Regions from separate parts of the Homo sapiens genome. Here region 1 is linked to region 2. The links are contacts of gene promoters, found by promoter capture Hi-C in human tissues and cell types (Jung and others, 2019). All regions are on one chromosome and are shown on one strand. The core of a region is centred on a gene start or on the middle of the fragment in contact, and the rest is flanking DNA. Distances in the headings are between cores, read along the strand shown.

Region 1 (3,044 bases), core at 329-2,828, 70 kb after region 2:
AACTGGTGAAATTCAAATAAGTCTGCTGTTTACCTAACAGTATTGAAGCAGTGTTAATTTCTTAATTTTAACAAATGTACATGGTTCTCTATGATGTTAACATAAGAGAAAAGCTGGTGAAGCATACATAGGAACTCTCTCTACTATCTGCAACTTTTTTGTAAATCTAATTAAACTTTGATTAAGAAAGCAAAATAACACATAGGCACACTTTTCTAGGTGACAACTCCATGGGGTAGAACAAGGGCTGTGGTGTTCACTAGTCTTCTGATGCTCAGCACTGGGTCTGGCAGGTGTAATTAATAGCTATTGAATGAATAAAAGAATGCACAAGTGAATGAACCAAGCACACAGTGCAACTCATTCCAAGACATCTTATTATTCACCCAAATAAACCCTCCTGGGTACCTCTTTATTCCCTGTAGTCAGCAGCTGGATTAATATCAAAAACAAAAAACCAACCAAAAAAAGCTAACATCAAGGAGTCCTTTGCCCCACTAGTTTTGATGGACCTCCATCATCCACCTAATAAAATTTTAGTTCCTATGCTGGCATTCAAAAGCTTCCAAAATGTGTCTCCAATTTGCTTTCCTAACTTTATTTCTAAAGTTACAAACTCTGTGATCTATGGTACCACTTATACTTTCTACAAATATGCTTCATGCTTTAAAAAAAATTTTTTATGTCTGTGGCTTTGCTGATGCTCTTCTGTCAGAAGTACTTTTCCCCCAAAATCTCTATTCAAATCCTAACTATCATTCAAGGCACAACTCAGGGGCGATCTCTTCCATAACGCTTTTCTCCATTTATTTAGGCACAATCCTTCCCTCTTTAAAACTAAAAGCAATTGCTATTTTGCCATTTGTGGCCACCTTGGAAATGTGCCGTTTGGGTCACCTACCAGAGAAAACACAGTTGATCGACAGCGCTGAATGCTGCCTCTCTGGATCCACTGTTCCTGTTCCTGCCAAGGAACTCTGTTCCTGTACCTGTTCCTGCCAAAGTTACCCCTTTCCTGGCTGTTCCCAGATAGTGACTAACAAGACGGGGGGTATTAGTGTTAGCCTGTTCCTACAAGAGTTGGGACTCCTCTAAGGAGCAACTTTGGCTGGAGGACTCCCATTTGGCCTGAGTGAAGCTTTCTTGAAACTTCACTGCATCTGAGAGGCTTCCTACCCTATCCTCTTTCCTTTCCTTTCTCCTTTCACAGGTGTTTGACTTGCATCAACATAAGAAGACTTTCCCTTCCTATTTCTGCTTTCTCCACTTTATCTTTCATGCTGTTTTCTCCAATGAATCTCTTACATGTCAAATCCTATCTTGGTGCCTTTTTAAAAGATCTGAACTGATACATTGTTTTATAGCATTTACCATGTTCTATCATGGATTATGAGTCATGGTATAAATGGCATATGCCACGTGTTAGGCTGCAAATTCCTGGGCATAGAGACTGGACATTTGTCAGTTTTATGGTCCCCAAATATCTAGTACAGTGCTTTGCACATACTCAGTACCCCAAGCTGTTTGTTAAATGAATAATGATTATAATGTATTGATATATTTATGTGAAGTTTGAAAAAGTGTCTTTGTATGCTTTATCTTAGTTGAACATCCTAATAATCCTAGAAAATAGACTGGCCAAGCCAACAAAAGAAGTTGACCTCACAGGAAGGTGAGATTCACTGAGCTTGTCTGAAAGTTGTTGGAGTCCAGATTTGTGTTCCCTGTTTGTGCTTAAGGCACTCTAGTGTTCTGCCAGGGTCAAAATAACAAGGCCTAAACCCAACAGCTTATTATGTGGTTGCAAACACTCTAAGTAACTTTACCTGAATTAGCCCCTGCAACCTGCACGAAACCCTTGTAGGTAGATGGAATTATTTTATCATTTAACACAAATGTAAATGCCCAAAGTCATGCAATCCAGAGGTGGTACAGCCAGGATTTAAGCACTGTGCTCTTAATCTTTAGGTTACCCTATAGCAAGTAGCTATTTGTGATTCACTGAATGAATAACACAAGTCAGCAGCTAGAGGAACCAAGATTTGAACTTAAGTCTTCTACAACATTTTGTCAATCAAGAAATCCTCTGTTCTATATCCCTGAGGTTTTGGCATTCAATTTTAGCTTGAAGGAAAATGCAATTATTTCATCAGTGTTGTCCAACAGAACGTTCTACAATGATGGGAATGTCTTACATCTGCACGTCCTATATTTTAGCTAGAAGCCCTATGGGGCCTTTGAGCATTTGAAATGTAGCTAATGCAACTGAAGAAATGAAGTTCTAATTTTATTTTTATTTTAATTTAAATAGCCCCACGGGATTATTAGCTACTATATTGCTCAGCTTAATTCTAGTCTCTTCTCTGATCATTTCATCTGAACATGGTCTCATTTCTCTGGCAGTTAGTTGAGTTTTATTTCAAATTTTAAGCTGATGAATTCACTGTGCAGTTCGCTGAAAATGAACGAAAATATCCAATCAACTCATGACAGGCAAATTCGATATGCCCAACTCAGTCACCAACCCAAGGATGCTACCATTTGGAGGAAAAAATTTCTAATTTATGATCCTAATCTAAGGGGATATTTCTTCTGGCCTAAGGATGATTTTAGGCTTCTCTTGTTGCCTAACCTTTCTCAACTGGCTTCATCTTCCCTGGTTGGATGCTACCTGAGAGGAGTAAGAGACAGGAGGACCAGAGGAAAATGCAGACATTTTTCTTTGAGATATAAAATTTTAATTCCAAGGGATGATAGCTACGGGGGATTTGGGAATTCAGTTAGACCCCATGAAACTCTTCTCGTCAAACAGACAAAACAAACAATTAAAAAAACAACAACAACAACAAAGAGCAAGAATATTTTCCCTTGTAAAGAAAAAATGTTGCATCTTTACCTGTTCAGCATGATTTTTGTTTTTTGCTCCCTGCATTGCCAGCTCTGGATTTACGTAACCATTTTTAACTTTCTCGATAGAACCATACTCGTACATTCCATCTGATGACAATGGAGGGTCCTGAGGGGTTTGCTGTGGGGGAATGCCC
Region 2 (2,700 bases), core at 181-2,680:
TGATGTTTATCACCCGAGTGGCCTTGGGAATTAAAGGGATGTCAGAAAGTCATGGAGGACACTTCCCGAGGCTTCAGCACAGTCAGCAAACACAGGACTTAGTGCATGCTAACCCAGTGCTCTGTGTGCGTGTGCATGCGTGTGGGTGCATATGCGTGTGTGTGTGCGTGTGTGTCCCTATTATTGCTACAGGACAGTGCTGCATGATTCTAAGAGTCAGACTACCTGAGCTGAAAACTCTGCTCTACATTAGCTGGCCTCATAAGCTCTCCAAGCTGCAGCATCCTCATCTGTACAGCAGGGACAGCAACACTGGTACCTGCACCCTGGAAGGCTATTGCCAGTGATCGGATGGGCTGACACAGAGTGCCACGCGGGCCATTGCTGCTGCTAGGACTGTTTACCCCCAGAGGTACAATGAACCCCCCACCAAACATGAAGGTGCCTCTGACCCTTCCAAGTCCAATAAACTGCTGACTGTTAGGCTTAAAAGAATAAAACAACAACAACAAATTGTCCACCAGAACGCTTCCAATGCTTCCTACAATAACATGAGTTCAGAAATTCATAAAGAGAAGCAGCCAGCTGTGGTCAGTGAGACAGGACAGGAAAAAGTGAGCCCTTATGGAGGTATAGTTCCCCCAAAAGGACTATTCTTTCAAAAATACAACCCTAAATCTTTCCAGGAAACCAAAACACAGCCAAGCCTGCTCAGTAGGGGGGAAGAATCACATTTCCCCTTTCCTGACCAGAGGTTTAAAACTAACTAGAAACACTGCAATGACGGCCAGTAGCCAGTTAGCACTTAAAAAAAAAATTTTCCATGTTTAGAGTCTGAAAAATAGGGGATCAAAACAGTACAGCATTCAAAGAGGAGACAAAAGAGAAAAAGTTACCAGCTACCTCTTGGGTCTTTCAAAGACTGCAGTGTCATCCCTGTAAAAGAGTGAGGTACTCACCTTTCTATAAGAATGAAGGACTCATCACCTTAAGCACTGAATTCTGAGAAAGCCTAGGCTCCTGAGGTCCCAGCCCAGATTTCCTTACAACGCAGCCAAATGGCTTTTCAGAGTTCAGTTCTGCCGGGTGGGGGAAGGGAAAGGGGAGCAACAAAATTCCCGCAAGTCTTACCACCACTGTTTTAAAAAGAAATAAAGAAGAGTCACTAACCTTGCCTCCTGTCCGGGAAGCGAACCGGGCCTGGCTGAGGCTGTCTCCCATAGCAAAGCGCCCCAAAGTTAAGGAGCTGAGCCACCACGGAAAGGTTTGCAAGCCAGCTCCTCTGGGCACATGGCATGATTCAGATGTTGAGGAGAAGAAAAGTCAAAAAAGTTTTAGCCCTCAGCTCCAGAAATAAAGCGCTCGCCTGTGGCCCAGCAGGAAGATGCAGGGGTGCATGGTCAGGCGCGAGAAGGCAGCGACTGCAAAGCTGCCCGCGATCTCCCTGTGCTTTTTTAAGCAGAAAGGAGCTAGACACCTTTTTCCCCTCCCTCCTCCTAAAAGGGGAGTGATTCAGCTGACAGTGTCCGCTTTCGGCGGGGTGTGGAATGGGCCAGAGCGGGAGGGCGCAGCCCACCCCGGTCCCCACCCCTCCGCCTCCCGCATGCCCCGCGGCCTCGCAGCCCGCCCGCTCGGTGCATCTTCCTCCCGGACTCCCACCCCCGCGCTCCTCCGGCCCCGCCCCGAACGCCAGGCCCAGCTGGCCGAGCCGGCCAAATAGGGGAGACCCGGGAGAGCCGCCCTGGGAGGCACTGGAGGAAGCTGCGAGTGAGAGGCCCCCAGGCCAGCCCCCCGGCGTGCTTAAATACAAGCTCAAAATGAGGAGAACAGAGTTGAGGCAGAGGGGGGCCCCACTCCCTCCATCCTTCCGCGCTCAGCGCTGCCCCCTCCCCTGCTGTTCTCCTCCAAGTTCCTGAACTTTTCCCAACATCGCTCTATCAAGACTCCTCACCCACTCGGACCGCTCTGGGATTCTCTTCCACTGGAAAAACTAATAGGCGATTTTTCTCTTTGCCAAGTCACACAAAGGGAAATGGGCTGCGCTAATCTGCTAATGTGACCTCAGACAAGCCCCCTCAGCTGTGCAATGAGGTGACTGCTGCAAATGCCTGTGGGCCCCTCTGAGTCTGCAGATCTCTGTGCGGCTCTTCTGATTCTAGAACCCCATCTTTCCTAGCCCACCTCCATTCACTCAAAAGGAAACCAGGAATTAAGTCAACCCAGGAAGGTGTTAAGGTATCTCCCCAGTTTCCCTGAACTGGCTACCCTGGAGAGGGCGTCCATTCATTCAGAGGCTCAAGCTTTTACATCGGTCAGAGAATGCCACAATCCAGGACGCTTGCCAGGCATCTTGAGAATTTACTGGGCTAATCCAGCCAAGATTTTTCACCTCTGAGCTGAAACAGGCCTCCTTACTCCATTCAGGAAGAATTCGGCCCCCAATATTGACTTTTCCCTGGCTGCCAGCCAACCACATGTGTTAATCAAGAGTTCTGGGATACCAGCTTACTCAACCTTGTATAGGGACAGAGCCTCCAAGGCAAACTCAGTGGTCTGAAAGCAAGGTGGTCCTCTCAGATGTGGAACACATGGGCACCAAGACTTTGAGAGGTATATGCTAGTTTCCTATTTTTGGTGTTACAAGTTACCATAAATTCAGTGGCTTGAAACAACTCAAATTTCTTATGTGACAGTTCTGAT

Evidence for each region. Contacts are between HindIII fragments. The study calls those that stand out against the background at their distance.
Region 1: a contact is called between a fragment that was not itself captured here and the fragment with the promoter of ADAMTS12 in region 2, in 2 of the 25 tissues and cell types used here (aorta and small bowel).

The regions. Positions count from the first base shown.
Region 1 is chr5:33,960,795-33,963,838 of GRCh38, forward strand. It overlaps SLC45A2 (solute carrier family 45 member 2), which reads right to left. Exons shown (of 7, transcript NM_016180.5): 3 at 2,897-3,044. Among named protein-coding and RNA genes, the nearest start is that of SLC45A2, 22 kb to the right of the region's middle. The HindIII fragment of the contact is 4,261 bases long and covers 1-3,044 here.
Region 2 is chr5:33,890,560-33,893,259 of GRCh38, forward strand. It overlaps ADAMTS12 (ADAM metallopeptidase with thrombospondin type 1 motif 12), which reads right to left and starts at 1,431. Exons shown (of 24, transcript NM_030955.4): 1 at 1,171-1,431. The coding sequence starts at 1,297. RefSeq lists enhancers at 713-1,214, 1,215-1,714. The HindIII fragment of the contact is 6,841 bases long and covers 1-2,700 here.